Linked DNA regions of Homo sapiens: regions 1, 2 and 4 are each linked to region 3. Evidence: promoter capture Hi-C in 16 types of primary human blood cells and fetal thymus (Javierre and others, 2016). All regions are on one chromosome and are shown on one strand. Each heading gives the region's core, a stretch centred on a gene start or on the middle of the fragment in contact. The rest is flanking DNA. Distances are from core to core; before and after follow the strand shown. Region 1 overlaps LOC728743 (zinc finger domain-containing protein LOC728743). Region 2 has its middle 4.1 kb from the start of LINC00996. Region 3 holds the start of AGAP3 (ArfGAP with GTPase domain, ankyrin repeat and PH domain 3). Region 4 overlaps LRRC61 (leucine rich repeat containing 61).

Evidence for each region. The method cuts DNA at HindIII sites, captures the fragments that hold promoters and counts their contacts. A CHiCAGO score of 5 or more calls a contact.
Region 1: a contact is called between a fragment that was not itself captured here and the fragment with the promoter of AGAP3 in region 3, in 4 of 17 cell types (naive CD4 T cells, erythroblasts, naive B cells and 1 more). The highest score is 7.1, in naive CD4 T cells.
Region 2: a contact is called between a fragment that was not itself captured here and the fragment with the promoter of AGAP3 in region 3, in 2 of 17 cell types (naive B cells and total B cells). The highest score is 5.1, in naive B cells.
Region 4: a contact is called between a fragment that was not itself captured here and the fragment with the promoter of AGAP3 in region 3, in 2 of 17 cell types (fetal thymus and non-activated CD4 T cells). The highest score is 6.2, in fetal thymus.

Annotation. Positions count from the first base shown.
Region 1 is chr7:150,406,984-150,409,683 of GRCh38, reverse strand. It overlaps LOC728743 (zinc finger domain-containing protein LOC728743), which reads right to left. Exons shown (of 3, transcript NM_001395976.1): 2 at 1,196-2,100. The coding sequence starts at 2,072. The coding sequence ends at 1,461. Among named protein-coding and RNA genes, the nearest start is that of ZNF775-AS1, 24 kb to the right of the region's middle. RefSeq lists an enhancer at 2,686-2,700. The HindIII fragment of the contact is 2,546 bases long and covers 168-2,700 here.
Region 2 is chr7:150,428,161-150,430,860 of GRCh38, reverse strand. No RefSeq gene overlaps it. Among named protein-coding and RNA genes, the nearest start is that of LINC00996, 4.1 kb to the left of the region's middle. RefSeq lists an enhancer at 1,866-2,035. The HindIII fragment of the contact is 4,508 bases long and covers 1-2,700 here.
Region 3 is chr7:151,085,157-151,087,856 of GRCh38, reverse strand. It overlaps AGAP3 (ArfGAP with GTPase domain, ankyrin repeat and PH domain 3), which reads right to left and starts at 1,382. Exons shown (of 18, transcript NM_031946.7): 1 at 785-1,382. The coding sequence starts at 1,115. RefSeq lists silencers at 207-476, 837-906, 1,273-1,362, 1,413-1,662. The HindIII fragment of the contact is 3,352 bases long and covers 1-2,623 here.
Region 4 is chr7:150,324,796-150,327,552 of GRCh38, reverse strand. LRRC61 (leucine rich repeat containing 61) reads right to left here. Exons shown (of 3, transcript NM_001142928.2): 2 at 1,543-1,712. Among named protein-coding and RNA genes, the nearest start is that of ACTR3C, 2.6 kb to the right of the region's middle. The HindIII fragment of the contact is 2,722 bases long and covers 108-2,757 here.

The DNA.
Region 1 (2,700 bases), core at 191-2,690, 680 kb after region 3:
CCCTAACACCCCTGCCCCAGCTCCTATCACATGGCCCCAAATCCTCCCTGCTCCATCGTCCACTTTTTAAGCAGTGAAGCTAAAAGGTTCTGGGATTCAGAATCCAAAACAAAGCCCTGGCTTCCACCTGTTGTACCCCTAAGTACCAACTGTGGTGTAGGCAAGCTTGGCAAACCTGTTTCCTCATCTGCCAAAAGGCTGAAGAGGCCCGTGCCTCAGAGCGCCAGCTTGGAACCAGAGGTCCTGGAGCAGAGTCCTGGCTGCCCCCTTTCTCACTGCCAGACCTTGGCCAGGCCTCTTAGCTGGGGGCCTTATGTTCTCTTGCCCAGATGACCCAAGCCCCTCGAGGCTCCAGCTCTTCCCACATCAGTCTGTCCTCACAGTGCCTCTGATTCTCCTCCTAAAGCATAAGTCTGAGATCATAGCACTCATCTCATTAAAAATCTCAGTGTCCCCACCCCCTGACCACGAAGTCCTTTGTAGGGCAAACCTCCCCTTGGGACACCTGGAGACAGTCACTGAACTATCAGGACCCCCCCTCCCTTGAAAACACCCTTCTACACACTTGCTCTTCCTAGAACAATTTTATTTGTCCCCATGACCTGGTTCAAAGCCATCAAACTCCCCTGGGTGACGAAGAGAAACCAGTCACCCTCCTCGGTCTCACCCCAGAGCACTTTGTAGGTTGGCCCCGCGTCACACACCGAGTGTGAGCACCCCGTGTCAGGGCCTGCGGTCCTCATGTGTGTCTCTGGGAGAGCCCAGCCCGGCACAGTCAGTGGCACATGGTGTGGCAGAATCAACTAAGGCTCTGTGCACCAGTGACCTCACCCTCTCTCATCCAGTAGCTGCAATATATCCCAGCGAGGAAGAGTCCCTCATCTATATCCCCAACTTACAGATGAGTAAACTGAAACATGAAGTGAAATGACATCTCAAGGACAGCAGAGAGTGTGTACAGGAGCCAGGAGGCCTAGGGGCTGAGGTTGGGCGTGGGGTTTGTGGAAAGTGGCCTCTCCAAGTCTCTTTCAACTCTGACATTCTGGGGATGAAGATCCGGTAAGCAGCTCATCACAGAGAAACCTACAGCCCGGTACCCAGACCGCCCCACCTGCCATCAAGAATCAACACCACGCACTCCACCCCCACCACTCCCAGCCCTGAGAGGGGCTCTGGCCAGCCCCGCAGGTCTCACCTGCTCTAGGCCGGATGGGCCAGAGAAGGAGAACCATGGCAGGAGCCGGAAGCAGCTGTGCGCAGCCAGCCAGAGGGTCCCGAGGGAGGAACGCGAGCGGGCGGCCGGAGCCTGGCGGCGGCCCACACCTTCAAGAGCCCAAGCCAGCGCTGCCCCTCTCCCGGGATCCCATCTAGAGAGGGAGCTGCGGCCCAGGGCCATCTCCAGGGGTCGGGGACGCACGTGCGGGGCGGGAAGCAGCCGTCGGCAGCAGGCCCCGGGCGCATCATAGCACGCGTCCTAAGTGGGCCGCCTGGCCCTCGGGCCCGTGGCCGTGGCTGCGCTGATGGGTCTTGAGCGAGCCCTCGCGCGCGAAGCTCTTGCCGCAGCGGGGGCAGAAGTAGGGCCGCCGCTCCCCGAAGACGCCGGGGCGGCGCGGGTGCGGCGCGGGCATGCGCGCGTGGGTGCGCTGGTGGTTGAGCAGGAAGCGCGGCTCGCGGAAGCAGCGGCCGCACTGCGCGCACTGGTGCGGCTTCTCGCCGCTGTGGATGCGCTGGTGCGTGAGCAGGTTCTGCTTGAGGCTGAAGCAGCGGCCGCACTCGGGGCAGGGGAAGGGCCGCTCCCCGGTGTGCGTGCGCTGGTGCACCTCGAGGTTGTGCTTGACGCTGAAGGCCTTGCCGCACTCGGGACACACGAAGGCAGCCGCGCGGCCCGCTCCGGCGTGCGCCTTCTGGTGCCGCACCAGGCTGGGCTGCTGCGAGAAGGTCTGGCCGCACAGCGGGCAGCGGTAGGGCTGCTCCTCTGCAGGGTGGTGGATGACCAGGCCTCGCTCGTCCCCCAGACCCTCCTCCCCGTCCCCCGCAGGGGACCCGCCCCCGGAGGACGCCAGCTCGGTCATGGGCACTTCCAGCTGCAATCACCAGTCCCTAGGGAGACAGAAGCGGGGGCGGGGGTGGGGGGTGGAGAGAGAGGGGTCGGGGAACACGAGGGTTAGCCAACCCCCAGCCTGGCAGGGACACTCACCTCCCACAACCTCCACCTTTCGCCCCGTTTTGTTCAAGCTCAAGTTCCCCTGCTGGGAATTGGTGTTCCTCTTCCTCCACTGCCTTTTAAGCACGGCCTACACTCCTTCCAGTCCCTTCCCAAGGGCACCTTCTCCTAGAAGCCTTCCCTGACCTTTCCACCCCGGGCTTAAACACCGTGTGACACAACCATGTGGCTCTCACTGATCATACTGCACGAGGGTCAGTCATGCCACCTCTGTCCCCCGACTCCCAGCACCCTAAGGACAGAGCTGCCTTCTTTCAACCCCAGCACCTAGCACCATGCCAGCCAGCCACACAAGACACTAGACAGATGGTGATGAGTTTCAGTTAGGATTTTCAGTTTCAGTTTCAGCTAGGATTTTCAGTTACCTTCGTCTAGATATGTCTTATCCCTCCAACCAGATCTCAAGGACAGGGGGAGGTAGGGAAGTGCACCCCAAACTTGGAGAAAAGGGTGGCATTATCAGTGATTTAAAGATA
Region 2 (2,700 bases), core at 115-2,614, 660 kb after region 3:
GGAACTTCAGTTCTGGATTTCATCAAATAAACTCAGGGACTCAACAGAAGAAAGTGACCGTCTTGTGAGTCCACTGAGCTCTGTCTCCAGAACAGAACCCCAAGGAGTCGGACACAGGAGCAGCAAAGTGCAGGCTGCCCACTGCATCTGCACCAAGGGGAAGGCACGGTCTCTGCAGGCAGCTGCCTCGTACCCCAGCAGCTGCACGTTGCTGCCAGCGCCTGGGGACCGCTGCCTCAGATGGAGAAGCTGGAACTCAGATCCTAGACTATTCCCCTGGGGGAATGCGATGATGGTTTCCAAACTTCACAGGTGCAGGCACGGTTCAAACCTCTGCTTTGCCCTTCCTAACTGCCTGAACTTGAGCAAGTGACCTCCACCCCCAAGTACTTCAGGTTCCTGATCTATAGAAGGAAGATCGTAACGATAATGGTCTTGTGGAGTAGGATGAGGATTAAATAATCTCTCTCCAGTGGGGACTGTTTATTATCTCACACCCCATGTACCCCAGGGACAGAAAATGGGGTTAGGGGGCAGGGCGTGGTGGTGCACACCTGTGGTCCCAGCTGCTCTGGAGGCTGAAGCAGGAGGATCGCTTGAGCCCAGGAGGTCGAGGCTGCAGTGAGCCATGATTGCACCACTGCACTCCAGCCTGGGTGACCAAGGGAGACCCTGTCTCCAAAAAAATAATGCGGTTAGAGTTAGCATCTCCCTTGCTCCTTGGCTTTCAGGCCATACCTCTTCTCCCTTTTGAGAACTAGTCGGCCTCTTCGAGTGTTAGCTGCTGGTCTCTTCCCTTCGTGCTTTGGGGTATGGGCGTCCAGCTCAGTCCCCCCGCCGTCCCCAGGCTTTGTCCCAGGACATGCCGGGTGTATTTGTTCTCCATTGCTGCATAATAAACCACCACAAAAAGTGGCTTGAACAACACAGACTTACTCTCTTAGCGTTCTGGAAGTCCAGAGTCTGAAATGAACCTACAGGGCTAAAATCAAGGTGTCCACAGGGCAGGTTCCTTCTGGAGGCTCCAAGGGAGAATCTCACTGTTCCATGTCTCCTTCAGCATGAGACAGAGAGAGAAAGAGGGAGAGGTGGGGGGTTGGTGAGGTAGAAGGTGCCACACACTTTTAAATGACCAGATCTCATGTGAACTCAGAGCAAGAGCTCACTCATCACCAGGAGGATGGCCCAAGCCATTCATGAGAGATCTGCCCCCATGGCCCAAACACCTCCCACCAGGCACTTCTAACACTGCAGATTACATTTCATTCAACATGAGATTTGGGCAGGGACAAATATCCAAACTATATCAGCTATTAAAGTCCCCAAACCTTCCCTTTAGCTTCCAGTTGCTTTCCTTTGGCTTCTGGGGCAGCCTGCAGAGGGCAAGTGCCTTCGCTCTGAGAGCAGCTGAGTAAGGACACTGCCTTCTCTGACTATATTGAGTACCAGCCCCCCATTCACCAGGCATCCGACTCTCTGCCTCCAAACAATTGCTTTATGCAGGTCCAGGGGCTGGGCCTGGCTATTCTATGCCATCCTTGGGAGTCCTTCCCATCGTCAAGGATTTTCTGAAAGGTCAAGCCTGGCTGCACTGGAGAAGGGAATGTGGAAGCCACAGCCCCTCGTAGCCGGCAGCCTGGGCAGCAACTGGAGGAGGTGGAGCATTTTCCTCTCCCTGTGGGGCTGAGGAATGTGCAGAAAATGGGTCTGCGGGTTCTTTCCAGGTTGCTCAGGAAGGGGTCTAGGGATGTATCTGAGGGGACAAGGGTTTGGGTAGGGACCCAGGCCAGGACTCCAAAGCCCCAGTGCCTTGGCCCTGAGAGCTTGCCTGCCAGTGATTTCTACCTTGGCTGGAATGCACTTTGCCATTTCCTCTGTAGACACTTCCTTGGGCAGATGCGGCCATCTGGTCTACTCCACAGGAGGTGGGAGTGACAGCAGCAAATAAAGAAGACAGGAAGAAGGCGGCCAAGGGCTGCGTGAGTGAACACAAACAGCAGGAGGGCACTTTGCCCAGTGTGGCTTCTGAATCATGCCTCTGAAAGTCCCTGTGTGTGCACACAGCTGTGGGCAGTGCTTACGTTTCTGTGCATGTGTCTGTGGAGAGTGTGGTTGGGGGTCGGAGGGGGTACCTGTGAATTCCTTAGAGAATCCTAGAGGGTGGGACTCTACGGGACCTGCAAGCAAGTCCAGTGGGTTCCAAATGTTTTCTGCAGGTTCTAGTGGGGGCCCCCGGACACCTAAGGGGTGGGCCCAGCAGACAAGGTTGCTGGGGAGAGGGAGACCCATCCCATGCTGTAGCTGGAACACTCCTGGGGTGATCCATGGGTCTTCCTAGTGATATTTTGAAAAAATAAGATTTTACTTTCATTAAAAAAAAAACAAATCTTTGGAAGTAGTGACTTCCCATCTAACCTCCTCATTCTTCAGTGAAGAAACTGTAGCCCCCAGAAAGGAAGTGACTTCCCCAAGGTCGTGAAGGAACCAGCTGGGGGAGAGTCTCAGGCCTCCTGACTCCAAAGTGGGTGCCATCCACAGTTTATCTTGCATCTCTCGGCCTGCAGGGCTGTGGAGGTACAGGCGGCTGGAGGGTGCACTCTGCCCAGCCTCACCCCGGTGAGGACCAAGTGTCCCGGTTCTGAGGAACACAAGGCAAGGCCTCCCTCTTCTAAAGTCTCTTCTTGTTTCCTGACCTGCCGC
Region 3 (2,700 bases), core at 133-2,632:
ACCACTTCCTGTGCCCTCAGCGGTCGAAAGTCCAGGGCCTAAGGGCCCAGAGAAAAAAGCGCTAGGCAGCGCAGTGGCCGGGGGTTTCCGGTCCCCGACTCCGGGTGCGGTGTCCCTGGCGGTCGGTCAGCACCCGGCTGCCCAGCAGCTGCCTCCAGACCGAGGAGCCGCGGATCCCCGTCAGGCTCATGACCCGGCCAAAGCGCGGATGGACCTGCCGGCGCCTCCCACGCGGTCGCTGAGCCTCAGCCCAGCGCCAGGCCCGGCCCGCTCCCGCTTGGCCGCCGCGGCGTAGGGGGTGTGCGTCGGGAGAGGGCGCCGCGGCGAGCGCCACCCTCCGGGCCTGCGGGCGCTGGGCCCGGGAAGGCTGCCATCCACTAACGCGAGGCTCCGATCCCCCGCCCCACTGCGGAGCAGGGCCCGGGCAGCGGCTAAGAAGCCTCCCCGGTCACGACCCCACCTCCCCGCAGCTGAAGCCCTCTGCCGCGCCCACCTTCCCCGGCCAGGCCTGGACAGATCTGGTCCCGGCCCCCCCAAGCGACACCACCTTCGCGCCCTGGAACACAGTCAGCAGAAAACCCCCAACCCCAAAGTGTCCCCGAACGAGATATGGCGAAGCTGCCCGCCGGTTCTGCAACACAGATCGGCAAACCTCGTGGCCTGGTCCTCAAGCGCGCAAGGACCCCCGACAGGGAGAGCATGGCCAGGCACGGCCTGTGGAGCCCTCGGCCGGCGCCGGAGAGGCCACTGCGCCCCGGCTCCCGCAGCCCCCGGCTCCGCTCACCCTCGATGGAGATGACGTGCTCCCGGATCTGGTTCTGCAGCGCCAAATCCTCGATGCGCTCGATCAGGTCGTAGATGGCGTAGATATTGGGATGCACGGACTCGAAGCGCTGGATCTCGGCCCGGATGGCCGCGGAGTTGGAGAGCGCGAACTGCTGGGGGGGCCCGCCGGCCAGCTGCTGCGAGGGGCCGCCGCCGCCCCCGGCCCCGGGCCCCGCGCCGCCGAACTGCCCGCCGCAGACGAGCTGCTGCGCGGCAGCGCCGCCGCCCCCCGGAGCCGCCAGGCTCTGCTGCTGCTGCGGGCTCTGCCCCCCGCCCGCCTGGAAGTTCATGGCTTCGGAGCCGTGGGGCCCGAGGCGGGCCCGGGGCGGCGCGGCGGAGGCGGCGGCGGCGGCGGCGGCGGCAGCGGCGAGCGGGAGCGCGGGGCTGGCGGGGCCGGGACTACTGGGCTGGCGGCGCGGGGCTAGCGCATGGAGCCGGGGGCCGGGGGCCGGAGGCCGAGGCCAGGAGGCGCCGCCGCGCACGCTGTGGCCGCCGCTGCCGAGCGCTTCCCAGCGCCGTGATCCCGCTGCCTCGGAGCAGCCTCCAGCGGCAACAACAACGGGACCGGGAGCGCGCGGCCCAGGCCCTCCCCCCGCGTCATGCGCACGCACCGCCGCCCCCGCCGGCTCCGGCACACGCAGCCCGAGCCCCCCTCCCCGCCGCCCCCGCCCCTCCTGCGCGCCGGCCCGGGCGCCCCCGCCCCTCGCTCGCTCGCTGGCTCTGCAGCCTCCACCCCCGAGCCGCGCGCTCCAGCCCTGGCGCCCCGGCCCCTCCCACTCAGCCTCGGCCCTTCCGCCTCCTCACCAGCCCCCACCCGCATTGCCTCGAGGGCCACCCTCGCGGAGGGGACAGCTGCCCTGGTCTCCTCCCGCGCCCGGCTGTCGCTTTCGCCTCCCTGCGCTGATCTGGGCGGGGTGTCGGATCTCTAGGCAATGCCCAAACAGTGCCCTGCGCCTGAGGGTGCTGCTGACCGAGGCTGATTGGCCGAGGAGTCCGCCCAGGCCCAGCTGCTCCTCGCTTACAGCGTCCCGCCTTCAGTGCGGCATAGGCTCCCCTGTCCCCAGGCTCCGAGGTCAGCCCTAGAGACCACCCTGCTGCCGGAGTTTTCTCCCTGTCTCCCTGCCCAGGCTCTCCACTGCCGGCTGCAGCAGTGCTCTCCTAAAAGACCCTCCCCCTGCCGGACTTGGGAGATTAGCTAAATGCTACCCGACCCCATTGGTACATAGAGGAAGAAGAGGGAGGGATGAAATAGTATATGCCTTTCTCCCCTACTCATCCCATTGGAGAGACCAACCAAAGCCCACGTGGCTCTCAATTTTTCTTGTCCTCACCCCTTGTCCATCCTGTCCTTTCACTCCCTCTAGGGCCAGGGAGCTCCCTGAAATGTCCCAGTTCCTCTGCAGTCCCATTGCCAAAGTGGGCTGCAGTTCTGTTAGCCCCCTCCCCCCCACCAACACACACACGTTTCCTAAAACCTACAAGAGGTGACATTTGCAGAGGCCGCAGCCAATAAATCTGCCAGAGATGTTGCAGGGTATCTGCTACCCCCAGATATCCTAGGGCATCAGTGACACACATCGTCCTTCTTACGCACACTTCCACTTCCCTGGCCAAGCTGGATCTTTTCCCAGCATGAAGCTGTCCACTGTTTGATTACCCACACAACTCAGCCCCAGAACCAACCCAGTCACTATTCCCGAGTTCCTTGTACCTTCCAAAGCACCTGGTGCAAGCTAATCAACACACAGGGTCTCCTAAGCTCCTGAGGAACCTGTGTTTCTATCTCCCTGCATAAGCTTAAGGATATCTTGTGCCCTCTCTGGGTTTCATCTGCGAAATATAGTGGTTGAACATAAAACCTAGTTCTGATGTTGT
Region 4 (2,757 bases), core at 219-2,718, 760 kb after region 3:
GTCACCACGCCCGGCCCGGTGCAAGAACTTATGTCAAAGTGGCTACAAGATTGTTTAAAAGGAGACAGATGAATGTAACCCCATGTTTACTGCTAGAAACCAAAGCTTTATGTGAAATCTTGAATTTAGGGGCAGGGAGGGAGGGTAGAAAGGCTTGTACCTTCCCTGATCCCTGCCCCTCAGTCCTGAACTGCAGGAGACCAGGGCCCCTTGGGCTTTGGTTACTCCATCTCTGGGGTGCATCTATTGGATGGCTGATTTTTCTGTACCAGGTACTTCCTTTCCCATTTTCTAATCACTTTGCAACACACATGCTGACCCTTTTCACTTCCCTTCTCCTTTCCCTGGAAAGATATAATGAATACATAAAGACTTACTGGTACTGAAACTCAAAAAAAAAAAAAGATAAAAAAGATCTGACAATGAGTGATGCTAAACATTACTCACCAGGGTAATGTTTAAAAAGGGTCACCAGAGATGGCAGGGCTGCCTATAACAGGTGACGAGATGGCTAAGAAGGCTCAAGCAAGACTCTGGCCAGAAAGAGGAGCTCCTCCCAGCCAGAAGAACCTCAGAAGGGTTAAGTGGCAACAACTTCAAGTCCATCTCGCAAGAACTTTCAGCCACCAATAAATCCAAGAACTGAAGGCCTACTGCAAGGTGGCGCTTGTGTAGGGGCTAGGTAAAGCTGCAAAGGAAACACAGGCTGCTGTCCTGGGCCCACAACTGCTCTTGGATGTCACACTGGAGGGGACTTAACTCTCACTTCATGATTGAGGAAACTGCAACCCCAGAGTGTGAACATCCAGGCCTCCAGAGGCCATCTGCAGAACGGGGTCACCCTCCAAAGTATTTTTTTTTTTTTTTTTTCAGACTGGGTCTTGCTCTGTCACCCAGGCTGGAGTACAGTGGCATGATCTACCTTGTTGCAACCTCTGCCTCCTGGGCTCAAGTAATCCTCCCAAACTCAGCCTCCCAAGTAGCTGGGACTTCAGATGTGCACCACCACACCCAGCTAATTTTTGTGTTTTCTGTAGAGACGGGATTTCACCATGTTGCCCAAGCTGGTCTTGAACTCCTGGGATCAAGCAATCCCCCTGCCTCAGCCTCCCAAAGTATTGGGATTACAGGTGTGAGCCACTGCACCCAGCACACCCCAAAATCTTCATCTTAAGACCTACCCAGTTACCCCAGGACACCAATCTTGTTCTGTTTCCCAATTAGCTTTGTCTCATCATAAATGCTATACTCTGCAGATACTCTTGATTCACTCAATCATTTAACAGAAATTCATCAAATGTCTACTATGAGCCAGCACTCTGCCTTCAAGATATGAACAGAGGAGAGTAGCTGCCTGGCTGGCACTTGGGGCTCAGGATGAGACGACAACCTAGAAATGGGCTCATCATTAGACCAGGGGGAAAGTGGGGTATGGTGCTATGAGGCGGGGAGGGATCCCTGGGGGGCCCCCGGGCTGACCTACTGAGAAACAGGGTCTATTACACTGAAGAGCTTAGACCCGTCTTGCAAGGTGTTGTTTACCTTAGGCTATTGCTTCACAATCTTCAACCCTCGCAGGCCCGTCAGGTAGATCTGGGATTTTGTGTCATCACTGGTACAACAGTGACACCACCATGTTCTCTTCCACAGAAGTACTTTAGGATGACAGTGCAGCTGGCACTGTTGAGAGCCAACCTTGAATCCAAATGAATCTAAAACGTAAATTTTAAAAAGAAAGTCATTGATAAATTTCAGTACTTTATAACTAAGAAGTTACTTGTGGCCAGGTGTGGTGGCTCACGCCTGTAATCCTAGCACTTTGGGAAGCCAAGGTGGGTGGACTGCTTTGAACTCAGGGGGTTGAGACCAGCTTGGGCAAGATGGCGAAACCTTGTCTTTACAAAAAAAATACAAAAAAATCAGCCAGCTGTGATGGCCTGTGCCTGTGGTCCCAGCTTCTTGGCAGTCTGAGGCAGGAAGATGGCTTGAGCAGGGAAGTGGAGATTGCAGTGAGCCGTGATTGCACCACTGCATTCCAGCCTGAGCAACAGAGCCAGACCCTGTCTCAAAAAAAAGAAGTTACTTGTGACACACATCACCACAGCTGACAACACATTGGAGGCCTACAACCACAACAAGACAAGATTCCAAGGGCTTCTAAGCTGAAGCACGGCCTTTTGGGCTGCACGCCTGCCCATAGTCGATCATGTGGGCAGCAGTCAGGAAAGCGCCCTAGCCAGGCCACATGGGAAGCAGGCACATCCCTGGGAGGCAAAAGGGAAAGCGGGCCAGGCCGGGGTGACGGCAGGGCGGGGTGATGGCACAATGCATGGAGGAGACTGTGGGGAGAGCTGTTCAGGAGGTGGCCCATGCCTAAGCCTCAAGTGGAAGAGGAGGAATGATGGAGAGCGCCTCCACAGTGAGCCTCTTTCCTCATACAGGTCCATGTGGGCTATTTTGGGGCAAATCTTCAGGCAAGTTTCTAGAGAAACTGAAGGAAAACACCAGAGGGGGCTGCCCAGGTAATGCTGACAATACAGGGAGGTGAGAGGATGAGCAGATCTCAAAGGTGACTGAGAGGCAGAGGGGAGAGACAAGGAAAAACCAAAGTAAAGTGAAGTTAGGGAAACCAAGAAAAGACTTTCCAAAAGCAGTGGTCAGCGGGGTCAAAGGTCCCTTCAGTGGGCGGTACAGCAGGAAGTGGGGGAGAAGCAGGAACCGGGAATGCTGGAGGTGGGGATGGGAGGGAAAAGGCTT